Regions from separate parts of the Homo sapiens genome. Here all the other regions are linked to region 1. Evidence: promoter capture Hi-C in 16 types of primary human blood cells and fetal thymus (Javierre and others, 2016). All regions are on one chromosome and are shown on one strand. The core of a region is centred on a gene start or on the middle of the fragment in contact, and the rest is flanking DNA. Distances in the headings are between cores, read along the strand shown.

The links. The method cuts DNA at HindIII sites, captures the fragments that hold promoters and counts their contacts. A CHiCAGO score of 5 or more calls a contact.
Region 2: a fragment that was not itself captured here is called in contact with the fragment with the promoter of NHSL3 in region 1 in 5 of 17 cell types (M0 macrophages, M2 macrophages, megakaryocytes and 2 more); the score reaches 8.4 in M0 macrophages.
Region 3: a contact is called between a fragment that was not itself captured here and the fragment with the promoter of NHSL3 in region 1, in 1 of 17 cell types (M1 macrophages). The highest score is 5.3, in M1 macrophages.

Annotation. Positions count from the first base shown.
Region 1 is chr1:32,739,637-32,744,252 of GRCh38, reverse strand. NHSL3 (NHS like 3) reads right to left here and starts at 2,423. Exons shown (of 7, transcript NM_020888.3): 1 at 2,064-2,423. The coding sequence starts at 2,298. The HindIII fragment of the contact is 20,286 bases long and covers 1-4,616 here.
Region 2 is chr1:32,517,661-32,522,276 of GRCh38, reverse strand. No RefSeq gene overlaps it. Among named protein-coding and RNA genes, the nearest start is that of ZBTB8A, 19 kb to the left of the region's middle. RefSeq lists enhancers at 878-997, 1,048-1,097. The HindIII fragment of the contact is 798 bases long and covers 1,763-2,560 here.
Region 3 is chr1:32,534,480-32,539,095 of GRCh38, reverse strand. No RefSeq gene overlaps it. Among named protein-coding and RNA genes, the nearest start is that of ZBTB8A, 2.6 kb to the left of the region's middle. The HindIII fragment of the contact is 4,105 bases long and covers 256-4,360 here.

The sequences.
Region 1 (4,616 bases), core at 1,174-3,673:
GATTAGAGGAATCAAGACCTGCCTCTCATAGGTCTTTGAGCCAGAGATTGGAATGGAGGAGATAATGACTTCCCCAGCAAAGATCCCTGACCTCCCAGGAATCTCCTGTGTATCCCTCCTCCCCACCTCTCCCAATCTCCATTCTGAACATTCTCCCTGAAAGAGTTAAGCCTTCTGCAGGCTTCCCGTTCCTGGCCAGCGTTGCCAGTGGAGATTAGTGGGATCAGATTTATTTCTCTTAATAAACAGAAAAGAAGTTGGGCCAGGCAGGTGACAAGGAAACAGTTGCAATAATAGGAGGCTGGAGTAAAAGGGAACAGGACTTCCTCCAGTCATACCCAGGGCCACCTCCAGACCTGGAGAAACAACAGCCAGGGGCAAGGAGGTGTTACCCATGCACGTGGGCTCAAATCAGGCCGACATGCTGCCCAGAAAGCCCAGAGCCACCTGATACCAAACACAAGGCAAGAGGGAGGCCTGGCCACTGACCCAATGAACCCAAACCCAGGCTGTTGGAGCAGTGACCTACAGGCTCAGCTTTTCCAGCCCCCTGCCTTCCAGGCTGGTCTCCCAGAGGAAAAAGGTCCATTGCCCTGGAGTATACACTGCTAGTCCACTAGCCTTCTGCCTGCCAATCCTGACAGTCTGACCACAATACATCCTGCTGCAATGCCCTCTTGAATGAGACGGGGATGACTTCAGACTGAATCCCAGTGGGGCAGCCCTGGGACAGACTCCATGTCCTGTTAGGACTGCAGAGGCTTTGGAAACACCCCTCACCCAAATCCAGTCCTCCCTCAGGGTTTGGCCCAGTCACCCCAGCCCCAGCACCCTCACTTCTATGTGTGGCTGTGCCGCAGGGAAGCAGGGCCCTTATCCAAAAGGAAGATCAAGCCGGATACAATCACACATGAGGCTTTCCACCCTCTTCCTGACCCCTAAAGTGTTCCTTCTAACTCTCCCAGAAGAGGTGGTTAAAGGACACTGGGAGGGTAAACACAGGCAGAATGGGATGGGCCCGCACACCCAGCCATTTCCTCACCTCCAGCACTGCAGCAGCAGTCTAGGAAAGGTGGACTTCCCAGGACAGCAAGCCCCAAGGGAGCTCCACCCTCTTGCAAAGACTCAAGCCCTCCCCATCAAAAGGAAGACAGAAACTGGAAAATGAGGGAAGGCCCAAGAAAGGAACTGAAAATGACCCCAGCAGGGATGGGCCAGGTCGGCTTCCCCGCCTTTCAGGCTGCCCGTCCAGGCCAGAGGAGGAGCCCAGGGACTCAAATTCAGAAAGACTGAGAATTAGCTGTTGAATTTTAAGTACCCACCCCAGCCCAGGTACAGCCTCTCCACTGAGCTTGGGCCTCAGTTTCCCCCATCTGTAAGCACACTTCCGACACTGGCATGTTTCTCCAGGGCTGGAAGAAGGAGTGATAGGGAGGGGCGGGTTGGTTCACCTTGGTGAGCTCACTACCCCAGGAGGTGATGTTTGTGGCCTGGCCCAGGTGAGCGTTGAGGGAGGCCAGGTGGGAAAAGCCAGCACTGTTAAGAAGCTAAGGCAGGGCACACTGTGCTCCATGTGAGGTCCTTTGTGGGGCTGGAAATCCAGATCCAGCTGGAGCTGAAACTCTTTGTGAGTGCGGTTGACCTTCCAGACCCAGAGGGTCCCCACCAGAGACCCAAGGCCACCTGTCTCTCCCATTGGCCACAGGCCAGCGTTAAGTCTCTGACCCCCTGACTCAGCAGAGGGCAGAACCTCGGTGAGCCTGGGGGAGGGGGAATCGCCTCACCGCCCTGGAGTCGGGCTACCAGCACTTCCTGCTCTGCCAGGGGATCCCTGCCCCAGCCGGGGGTCCCCTCCCCTCACAGCGGGGCAGGACTGGGTCTGGAAACTGCGGAAGGCAGCGCAGGGTGGAAGTGTTCGGACTCAGCCCTGGCCTCTTCGCTTTCCAGCACCAGCTCCTGGGGGTCACCCCCCTCCAACACGCCGCGCGCGGACCCCCGGCAGAGCCCCCTCGGCCGCACCCTCGACGCCCCCCCGCGCTCAGCCCAGGTGCCGACCGCCTTACCTCGGCCTTTGCCCTTGGCCCTCTTGGCCTTGTCCTCCGCCTTCTTGGCCCGGGGGGCGGCCGGTTCGGCGCCCTCGGCCCCCGCCGCCTTCTTCTTGCGCCGCTTGCCCCGCAGCCAGCTGAAGGCGCGGCGGAGGCCGGACGCGCCGGAGCGGGACTTCTTCCTGCGCGGGGGGCCGCCCGGGTTCCCCGGCTCCTCGGCCGCAGGTGCGGCGGGGGGCGCGCGGGCCGCCATGGCAGGCGGGGGCGGAGCGGGCGGCGGGTCAGGCCCCCTGCGGCGCGGTGCCCATGCCGGGGGCGGCCGCCGGGGACGCGCGCCCGGAGAAAAGTTTGGGCGGCGGAGGCCGAGCGGGCGCGGAGAGCGGACGGCGGGAGCGGCGCGGGAGGGGCCGGCCGAGCGGCGGGCGGGGCGCAGGCCGGCGGGGAGGGAAGGAGCGGGGCGGGAGCGGCCGCAGGGCGGGAGCGCCGCTGCCTGCGGCCCCTCCCCGCCTCCCCCGGTCCCGGCGGAGGGCGAGGTCCAGTCCCGAGAGGAGGGGGTCCCGGGAGCCCGGGGTCGTGCCCCCCGCTGGGGCCCGAGAGGGCGGGTCGTGGGGCCGCCCGGGAGGGGGCGGCACTGAGGTTCCGTCCCGCAGGGGGCACCGCGGGAGATCTGTTCGGAAGAGGGTGGTATGGGGTGGGGACGGAAAGGGGAAGGGCGCAGGAAAGGAGGAGCGAGAGGCTGGGGTTGGACCCCAGGAGACTTGGTATCCCAAGTTTGGGCTGGGAATAGACAGGGGATTCTGGAATATTTTTTCCTGGAATAAGGGAATTTGGAGAATTCCTTCCAAGCCCCGACAGTGTTGGGGCGCTTGCGCCAGGAATAGAGGCTTCAGACACGTCCAAGACCTGTGACCCGCAGTGGGCATTTCCCTCCCATCTGCTGACTGGGGTCGCCTCCTCGCTCTTTACCACACCTTCCAGGCTCCAACCATCTTCGGTGTGCAGCGGGGGCCCAGGTCCACTGTGTTCCTGCCTCACCCTTTGGTGGCAAGATGAGGATAGCCCTTCCTCCGTTTACCCTTGGACTAGGATTTGAGGCCCCAGGGCACTCCTGCCTGGACCAGGAGTTCCCACTGAGATGCTCAACACTAATTAGGGTTGAACTCTGGGCAGGTGAGAGGTGTGACTGGGAGGCTGGTAGGAAAGGAAACATTAAGAATCCTGAAATTGCTGTACTCATTGCCTACAGGCCTCTGGGTCTATTACAGCTGACCAAGCCCTTTTATATCATCTGATCCCACGACAACGGAAATGGAGGCCAGAAGGGGACAGAGGTGGTCAGCGGGAGAGGAGCCAAGATGGTCATCTGGGTTTTGTCTCAGGCTGGTCCAAGGCTTCAAACCCTAAGGACTAGAAATTGCGCTGGGGACCAGCTGTGGGTTCAGCACCCTTGAACCTCCTCCGTCAGTCCCCAGAAGGGCCTTGTGATGTCCATACCAGTGGGGTGGCCAGAATCACCCAATCTGACTCTGGTCACACGGCTTTCTCTTGGTCCTGGTCTCCACGAGGGCAGGGGCCCATTTGTCTGGGCCACCCAGCCCAGTCAGCCCCGGCGCACTGTAGATAGCACTCACCATAACATTGCAGGATTACTAGAGTGCAGTGGGATCTCCCTAACCTGCCTTAGCCCCCTGCATGTCCCCAGGGGCTCAGCTGTGGTGAACCTGGGACATCATTGACACTCTCCCACCTGGGGGCCCTGGGGCAGACCACCCAGTGTCCATGCTGGGCCTCAGTTTCTTGTCTAACCACCATTCATTCAGATCCAGCCCACAATCCCAGAGCACCCATTCTGGATCAGGAACCAGCCCTGTACTCTGGGTGCTCTTGGCCCAGCCTAGCACTCCTAAGAACCCAGCCTCTTCCTCTGTTAGTTGGTGAGGAAAGGGAATGTAGAGAATGCAGTTTTCAAGAGAAAAGTGTTACAGGTGCCAGGCATGGTGGCTCAGGCCTGTATTCCCAGCACTTTGGGAGGCCCAGGCAAATGGATCACCTGAGGTCAGGAGTTTAAGACCAGCCAGACCAACATGGTGAAACCCGGTCTCTACTAAATACAAAAACTTAGCTGGGTGTGGTGGTGCATGCCTGTAGTCCCAGCTACTTGGGAGACTAAGGCAGGCGAATTGCTTGAACCCGGTAGGCGGAGGTTGCAGTGAGCCAAAATTGCACCATTGCACTCCAGCCTGGGTGACAGAGCGAGACTCTGTCTCAAAAAAAAAAAAAAAAAAAAAAAAAAAAAACTTATTAAGAATTTCAAGGCCTGCCACAGTGGCTCATGTCTGTAATCCCAACACTTTGGAAGGCCAAGGTGGGAGGATTGCTTGAGCCTAGGAGTTCGAGACCAGCCTTGGGCAACATGGTAAGAGCTCATCTCTCCAAAAAAAAAATTGTTTTTCATTAGCCAGGTGTGGTGACAAGTGCCTGTGGTCCTAGCTACTCACTCGGGAGGCTGAGGTGGGAGGATCCCTTGAGCCCAGGAGGTCAAGGCTATAGTGAGCCATGTTCGCGCCACTG
Region 2 (4,616 bases), core at 912-3,411, 220 kb after region 1:
TTCACATGTTGGCCAGGCTGGTCTCGAATTCCTGACCTCAGGTGATCTGCCCACCTCTACCTCCCAAAGTGCTGGGATTACAGGCATGAGCCACCACACCCAGCCAAGAGAGATTTCTTATAAGGAATTGGCTCATGGGATTATGGAGGCTCACAAATCCAAATCTGCAGTGTGGGCAGGCTGGAGACATAGGAGAGCTGACAGTGCAGTTCCAGTCCACAGAGTCTGCTGGAGAATCCCCTCAGGAAGGTTGCTCTTTGTGTTCTATTTGGGACTTGAGCTGATTGGATGAATCCCACCCATGTTATGGAAGGCAATCTGCTTTACCCAAAGCTCACAGATTTAAATGTTAATCTCATCAAAACACCCTCCAAGTTGACACACAAAATTGACTAGCACAGGTAATTATCTACTAAAATGGAAACAGGGCTCCAAAGAAAACAGGAATACAGCCAGGCATGGTGGCTCATGCCTGTAATCCCAGCACTTTGGGAGGCCGATGTGGGAGGATCACTTGAGCCCAGGAGTTTGAGACCAGCCTGGCCAACAAATTAGCCAGGCATGGTGGTGCATGCCTATCATCCCAGCTACTCAGGAGGCTGAGGCAGGAGGATCACCTGAGCCTGGGAGGTTGAGGCTGCCATGAGCCATGATTGCACTACTGCACTCCAGCCTGGGGGACAGAGTGAGACCCTCTCTTAAATACATAAATAAACAAACAGGAATAGCAAATGTAGCAAATGGCAAAGACAACAGGACCAGCTATTACCTTTAAGGTTGAAGGAGAGTACTCAAGGAAAGAAGAAACTTGCAAGAGGACTTCCTTTCCCATGCCCCACCAAAGACTGGGATTTAGACCTCTTCAGAGAGGATATGTCTGCCGCCTGCTGGATGGTGAAGTTCATTGAGGTGCCACAGGTGTGGGCTGGAAGATCTGTGGCCACCCACCAGGGTGCCAGCAAACTCACTGCAGGGTGGGCACCATTCCCCATGGAGCTGTACTGTAGGATGAAGAAGAAAGTTGCACTGAAGCCGGGCACGGTGGCTCAAGCCTGTAATCCTCGCACTTTGGGAGGCTGAGGCGGGTGGATTGCCTGAGGTCAGGAGTTCGAGACCAGCCTGGCCAACGTGGTGAAACCCCGCCTGTACTAAAAATACAAAAATTAGCCAGGCATGGTGGCGGGCTGAGACAGAAGAATTGCTTGAACCCCGGAGGCAGAGGTTGCAGTGAGCTGAGACCACGCTATTGCACTCCAGCCTAGGCAACGAGAGTGAAACTCTGTCTCAAAAACAAAAAAACAAAAAAAAACTTGGCCTGGCGCAGTGGCTCACGCCTGTAATCCCAGCACTGTGGGAGGCCGAGGTGGGCGGATCACATGTCAGGAAATCGAGACCATCCTGGCTAACACGGTGAAACCCCGTCTCTACTAAAAAATACAAAAAATTAGCCTGGCGTGTTGGCGTGAGAGCTGTAGTCCCAGCTACTTGGGAGGTTGAGGCAGGAGAATGGCGTGAACCCGGGAGGCGGAGCTTGCAGTGAGCCGAGATCGCGCCACTGCGCTCGAGCCTGGGCGACAGAGCGAGACTCCGTCTTTAAAAAAAAAAAAAAAAAAAAATTACACTGAAATCACTAAGCCCCTGCCTCTGCTATTGCAGTGTCCCTCTGGCGCCCTCTATTGACAGGGCCTAACATTGCTCTAGCTGGGAAAGAAGAAATGTTTATAGAGTCCAGCTGGTTGCACAAAGCAGGGCAAAAAAAGCTTAAGTTTGAAGTTAAGTGATGATAAATTGATAATTTGCATACATTTGAGGAATAAATGAATGTCTTCATCACCAAAACTGTAACTAACTAGGAGGATCATCGGTTATCTGAGATATTCAAGTGAGAAAAATATTTAAATTTAATAAAGAAAGATGTGGGACTCTTCATTGGAAGAAAAGGGGAAAATAGGCGGTTGGACAAACCGCTGGTGACCAGGGAGATAAAAGACTAATAGAAAGCAAAGAGGAGGGGCCTGGTGCGATGGCTTGCGCTTGTAATCTCAGCCCTTTGGGAGGCCAAGGCAGGAGATCGCTTGAGCTCAGGAGTTTGAAACCAGCCTGACCAACATGGCAAAACCCTATCTCTACAAAAAATACAAAAAATTAACCAGGCGTGGTGGTACGCACCTGTGGTCCCAGCTACTCGGGAGTACTACTTGAGCCTGGGAGACAGAGGTTGCAGTGAGCCAAGATCATGGCATTGCACTCCAGCCTGGGCGACAGAGTGAGACCCTCTCAAAAAAAAAAAAAAAAAAGCAAAGAGGAAACAAGAAGCTGGAACAGATACCTGTGAATTTGTACCAGCTCTTTAACAAATGTAATGATCTTACCCTCATCTTACTCATCTCAGAATTAGAAACTTATACTTTATATGTTTATTATTCCAGTGACTATAGTTCCCATACCACACTTCAAAACACATCATCTAACAATAACTGCAGTCATGCACCACATTTTGGTCAACAATAGACTGCATATACAACAGTGGTCTCTTAAGAATATAATGGAGCCGAAAGCTTCCTATTGCTTAGTGATGTTGTAGCTGCGGTAGCATCCTAGCACTGCGGTGACACTGGTGTAAACAAATCTGTGCTAACAGTCATACAAAATTCTAGAACACATAATTATGTACAGTGCAGAATACTTGATAATAAATGACTATGGGCTGGGCACAGTGGCTCACCCCTGTAATCCCAACACTTTGGGAGGCTGAGGTGGAAGGATCACGAGGTCAGGAGTTCAAGACCATCCTGGCCAACATGGTGAAACCCCATCTCTACAAAAAATACAAAATTAGCTGGGCATGGTGGCGCGCGCCTATAATCCCAGCTACTCGGGAGGCTGAGGCAGGAGAATCACTTTAACCTGGGAGACAGAAGCTGCAGTGAGCTGAGATCATGCCACTGCACTCTAGCCTGGGCAACAGAGCGAGACTCCATCTCAAAAAAAAAAAAAGTTACTGGTTTGTGTGTTTAAATACTATACTTTTCATCATTATTTTGGAATGTACTCCTTCTAGTTATATTTTTAAAAGTTTTCTGTAAAACAGCCTCAGGCAGGTCCTTCAGGCGGTATTCCAGAAGAAGATACCATGATCATAGGAGATGACAGCTCCACGCGTGTTATTGCCCCTGAAGACCTTCCAGTGGGACAAGATATATAGATAGAAAACAGTGATATTGGTAATCCTGACCTTGTGTAGGCCTAGTCTAGTCTAGTGTGTGTGTGTGTTGGTGTGTGTGTGTCTTAATTTTTCACAAAAAAAGTTTAAAAAGTAAAATTAGCCGGGTGAGGTGGCTCACGCCTGTAATCCCAGCGACTTTGAGAGGATGAGGTGGGCAAACTGCTTCAGCTCAGGAGTTCAAGACCAGCCTGGGCAACATGGCAAAACCCTGTCTCTACAAAAAGCCCAAAAATTAGCCAGTCATGGTGTTTCAAAAAAATTTTTTAAATAGGAAAATGCTTATAGAATAAGGATATAAAGAAAGAAAATATTTTTGTACCGCTGTAGAATGTGTGTTTTAAGCTAAGTGTTATTACAAAAGAGTCAAGTGGGTTTTTTTGGTTTTTGTTTTTTATTTTGAGACAAGGTCTCCCTCTGTCACTCAGGCTGGAATGCAGTAGCTTGATCATGGCTCACTGCAGCCTCAAACTCCCAGGCCTAAGTGATCCTCCCCACTCAGCCTCCAGAGTAGCTGGGACTATGGGCGCTACCATGCCCAGCTTATTTTTTATTTTTTGTAGAGATGGGATCTCACTAAGTTGTTTAGGCTGGTCTTAACTTCCAGGCTCATGCAATTCTCCGGCCTCAGCCTCCCAAAGTGTTGGAATTACGGGCTTGAGTCACCACACCTGGCCTAAGAAGTTTTTTGTTTTTTGTTTTTTTTTTGAGACGGAGTCTCACTCTGTCGCCCAGGCTGGAGTGCAGTGGCGCGATCTCGGCTCACTGCAAGCTCCGCCGCCCGGGTTCCCGCCATCTCCTGCCTCGCCTCCCGAGTAGCTGGAACTACAGGCACCCGCCACTACGTCCGGCTAATTTTTTGTATTTTTGGTAGAGACGGGGGTTCACTGTGTTAGGATAGTCTCGATCTCCTGACCTCGTGATCCACCCGCCTCGGCCTCCCAAAGGGCTGGGTTTACAGGCGTGAGCCACCGCGCCCGGCCGTAAAAGTTTTTTAAAAATTAAAAAGTGTATAAAGTAAAAATGTTAGAGCAAGCTAAAGTTAATTCACTATTGAAGAAAGAAATTTTTAAAAATAAATTTAGCCAGCTGGGCGCGGTGGCTCAGGCCTGTAATCTTAGCACTTTGGGAGGCCGAGGTGGGCAGATCACCTGAGGTCAGGAGTTTGAGACCAGCCTGGCCAACATGGTGAAACCCTGTCTCTACTAAAAATACAAAAATTAGCTGGGCATGGTAGCGCGTGCCTGTAATCCCAGCCACCCAGGAGGCTGAGGCAGAATTGTTGGAAGCCAGAGGCGGAGGTTGCAGTGAGCTGAGATCGTGCCACTGTACTCCGTCCTGGGTGACAGAATGAGACTCTGTCTCAAAATAAATAAATACATTTAGCCTAAGT
Region 3 (4,616 bases), core at 1,059-3,558, 210 kb after region 1:
ATTATTGTACTTAAGTTTAGCAACGTCAAATGCAAAAGATTTCCACAGAATTTTCCCTTGTACTGAAGCAGTTATTTTAGTTGAGGATAACCTTTTCTAAACCTGTACAGGTCAGAAGCATTTCATTTGAATAGGAAAACCCAGAGAGGCTGAGATAAGAGAACATAATTCTTAGTTAAGTCCAGAGAAATATAAAATTAGTAAAAATAGCAAGTTGCGTCTTTTCCAATGCAAGCATTCATCGTACACCAAGCTTCCTCTGACAAATTTACGTCTCTAATATTTAGAGTACAGATATCAGGTTATACATTTGCTAAAATAGTAAATCAATGGATTTTCACTGTTACTGTAGAAGCATTACTTCTATAAATTAGTTTTCTAGTTCCTTATGCTGGGGTCAGGTACTGAAAAGTACTGTGTTATAGTAAAACTGGAGGGAAAAGGTTCAAATTATCAAAACTTGCGTTTAGCTTTTAATGGATTCCTCTCCTGTTCAAAATCATTCATATTGGACAGTTTGTAACTTTGATTTCAGGAATAATTAGCTATGCATTTTGAGGATACAAGATATTCACAATTGTCTCAATGTCACTTCTGTGTCACTGCAGAGGTGCTTTGCTATTTAGTTGCATTTCCTCACCTTCTGAACAGGTAAGTAGAAACATATTTGAAAACCATTAGGTGTCTGGTGTGTTGGATGTACTCAGATTACTCTGCTAGCGCCCCCATTGAGAATTCCCCCAGAAAGACCTGGACATGGTTTTAGCCAAAGGTTTTATTTTAGCCTTAGTTAATTAAAACATGCAAAAGAGTTCCACAAACATATTCCTCAAGAGAGCACATCAGGTTGGTGATAAACTCTTTGTTGAGGCCGGGTGTGGTGGCTCACACCTATAATCTCAGCACTTTGGGAGGCCGAGGTGGGCGGATCACGAGGTCAGGAGGTTGAGACCAGCCTGGCCAACATGGTGAAACCCCATCTCTACTTAAAATACAAAAATTAGCTGGGCATGGTGGTGCGCGCCTGTAATCCCAGCTACTGGGGCAGCTGAACCAGGAGAATGGCTTGAACACAGGAGGTGGAGTTTGCAGTGAGCCAAGATCGTGCCACTGCACTCCAGCCTGGGTGACGGAGCAAGACTCCATTTCAAAAACAAAAACAAAAACAACAAACAAAAATAACCTCTTTGTTGCAAGGAAGAGGTAATGAGAGTTTTGTCCCTCACCTTCATTCTCCTAGCTTTGGGAGCACGTTTCTGTATGCTAGAGCTCCACCATTAACCAGTGCTAGTCTCTTAAACTCTGTCTCCCACCCCACCCAACCCCCATCCCTGTTTCCACCTATTCAGTTCAAATCTTGAGGAAGATAATCCATTCCTTTTTTTTTTTTTTTTTTTTTTTTTTTTTGGAGACGGAGTCTTGCTCTGTCACCCAGGCTGGAGTGCAATGATGCAATCTCGGCTCACTGCAACCTCCGCCTCCCAGGTTCAAGCAATTCTCTGCCTCAGCCTCCAGAGTAGCTGGGATTACAGGTGCCCGCCACCACGCCTGGCTAATTTTTGTATTTTTAGTAGGGACAGGGTTTCACCAGGTTGCCAGGCTGGTCTTGAACTCCTGACTTCGTGATCCAGCCTCATTGGCCTCCCAAAGTGCTGGGATTACAGGCATGAGCTACCGCACCTGGTCCCATTCCAATTTTAACAGTGCCTGCTAAGGGTAAAGTTTTTGCTCTAGGCTCTTGGAATGCAGTGGTGAGCAAAAAATTCACCAAGTCCCTGCTTTTATGGGATTTGCAGTCTAGTGGGGGAGACAGATGGTAATCAAATAAATGTATAATTTGAAAATTGGATAAGTCTGAAGGAAAGGTATGTCGTGTGATGAGAATATTGATGAAGTGGGGACCCGTCTCATGAGGGAGAGGGTTTGTGTAAGGAGGACTTCCTTGAGGAGGTTATCTTGACTGGAAATCTGGAGTAGGAATTAACAGGCAAGCGTGTGAGTGGTCAGGAGCATTCCAGATAGAAGGAGCAAAATGGTGCTTGGTAGATGGGAATATAGCCTGAAAGGCTGATGAGACTGGAGTGCAACGTGAGGGAGAGAGACAAGAGATAAGATGGGAGAGGGAGGCAGGGGTCAGACCATCAGGGCCTTGTCGGGCCAGGTTAAGAACTTTGGGAGCCATTAATGTGTTTTAAGCTGCATGGGGTGTGTGTGCTATGATGAGGTAAGCATTTTGAAAAGATGACTGTGGAAGATAAATTAGAGGGAAGGAAGAGTGGATCACAGTGGCCCAGCTAAGAGATGGTAGAATCTTGAACTAGAGTGGAGGTAGATAGAAGTGGGGAGATCAAGTGAGGTGGAGAGTTAAATATTAGAGATAATAGTTTGACTCTGAGAAATGAGGGAGAAGGAGGAGTCAAAGACAACTCCCAGCCTTTTGGAACTGGACAGATGGTGGTTCTGTTCACTGAGAGAGAGAGGACTAGAAGGGCAGGATTTTTAAAATTTTTAAATTAAAAAAAAATTCCTACTTGAACCCAGGAGGTGGAGGTTGCAGAGAGCTGAGATCATGCCACTGTACTCCGGCCTGGGCAACAGAGTGAGACTCCGTCTGAAAAAAAAAAAAAAAAGAAAAGAAAAAAGAAATTTCATCATCAAAGTCATATAGGTGGGATGGGAATTAAAACCATGGATATGCATAGAGAGAGAATATAAAATGAGAAGCAAAGAAGGCTTAGGACCAAACATTGAGCTACTTCCTCATCTAGTGGGTGGTTAGAGGAAGCTGAAATTGCAAATGAGTGTGAGAAGACTGGAGAGGAAGGAAGAGACCTGGGATAATGTGATGGCATAAAAACTAAAAGAAGAGTCCAGACACAGCGGCTCATACCTGTAATGCCAGCACTTTGGGAGGCTGAGGCAGGAGGTTGGCTTAAGGCCAGGAGTTCCAGACTAGCCTGGGCAACATAATGAGACCCGATCTCTACAAAAAAAATAAAATAAATTAGCTGGGCTTGGTTGTTTGTGCCTGTAGGCTTAGCTACTTAGGAGGCTGAGGTGGGAAGATCGCTTGAGTCCAAGAGCTTTAGGCTGCAGTGAGCCATGATGGCATCACTACTACTCCAGCCTGGGTGACAGAGCGAGAACCCAGCTATAAAAATAAGGAAAAAAGGAAGAATTGGGCAGTAGTGCTAAATATTGCTAAGAGAACAAATCTAAAAGAAAATGTCCATTACATTTAACAAGTTGGAGATCATTGACTTTAGAGAACATGATTAGGCTTAAAAGATGGGGTGGATTTCCAGATTAGAGGAATAAGTGGAGGATGAAGGAATAGAGATGATGAGAACAGACAATTCCTCTCAGAAACTGGTTTATAAAGGGGATGTTCCAGTTATTTTTACTGTGTAATAAACCAAACCAAACTTACTTAGTAGTAGAAAACTGAAGCTATTTTATTATGCTCCTGGATTCTGTGGGTCAGGTCACAGCAGGGGTGGCTTGTTTTTTTTTTTCCTGTTGTCTGGAGCCTTAGCTGGGAAGACTTAAATGACTGGGGGTAACTTGAACTACTGGGAACTGGAATCATCTGCAGGTTTCTTCGCTTAAAGGTTTGGCACCTGGGCTGGGATCACTTGAAGGTTGGCTCAGCTGAGATTTGTCATCTAGAGCACCTACCCATGACCTCTCTGTGGGGCTGGGGCTTCCTGCATCATGGCAGCTGGGTTCTGACAGAGTGTGTCCAAGACAGGTAGGAGGGAGCTGCATGACTTTTTCTGCCTATCTATGGAAGTTGTCCCAGCCTACTAAGATTCAAGCAGAAGGGGGACATAGTTGCTATCTCTAATGGAAAGAATGTCACAGAATTTGGGGTCATGTTTTAGAATTATTACAGGCAAAGAGAGATGGTGGTAGCTAGAAGGGGATATGTGTAAAAGAATTTTTGTTTGTTTGTTTGAGATAGCTGTCGCTCAGGCTGGAGTGCAATGGCATGAACACGGCTCACCGCAGCCTTGACCTCCTAGGCTCAAGCAATCTTCTTGCCTCAGCCTCCCAAGTAGCTGGGACTACAGGTGCACACCACAATGCCTAATTTTTTAATTTTATGTAGAGATGGGGATCTCCCTATGTTGCCCAGGCTTGTCCCAAACTCCTGGGCTCAAACGATCCTCCCACCCCAGCCTCCTGAAGTGCTGGGATTACAGGTGTGAGCCACCAAGCCGGGCCAGTAATTTATTATACAGCAATAGATCACTTATACAGATTGTGGTACCTAGAAGTGTTGCCATAACAGAAACCTGAAAATGTGACTTTAGAACTAGACAGTGGGTGGAAGGGCTTTGAGGTGTTAGTGAAAGCTTGAAGAATCTTCTAAAAAAATAGACAACTTATACCGGGTGCAGTGGCTCATGCCTGTAATCCCAGCACTTTGGGAGGCCAAGGTGGGTGGATCACTCGAGGTCAGGAGTTCCAGACCGGCCTGGCCAACATGGTGAAACCCCATCTCTACCAAAAATACAAAAATTAGCCGGGCATGGTGGCAGATGCCTGTAATCCCAGGTACTTGGGAGGCTGAGGCCGGAGAATCACTTGAACCCAGGAGGCAGAGGTTGCAG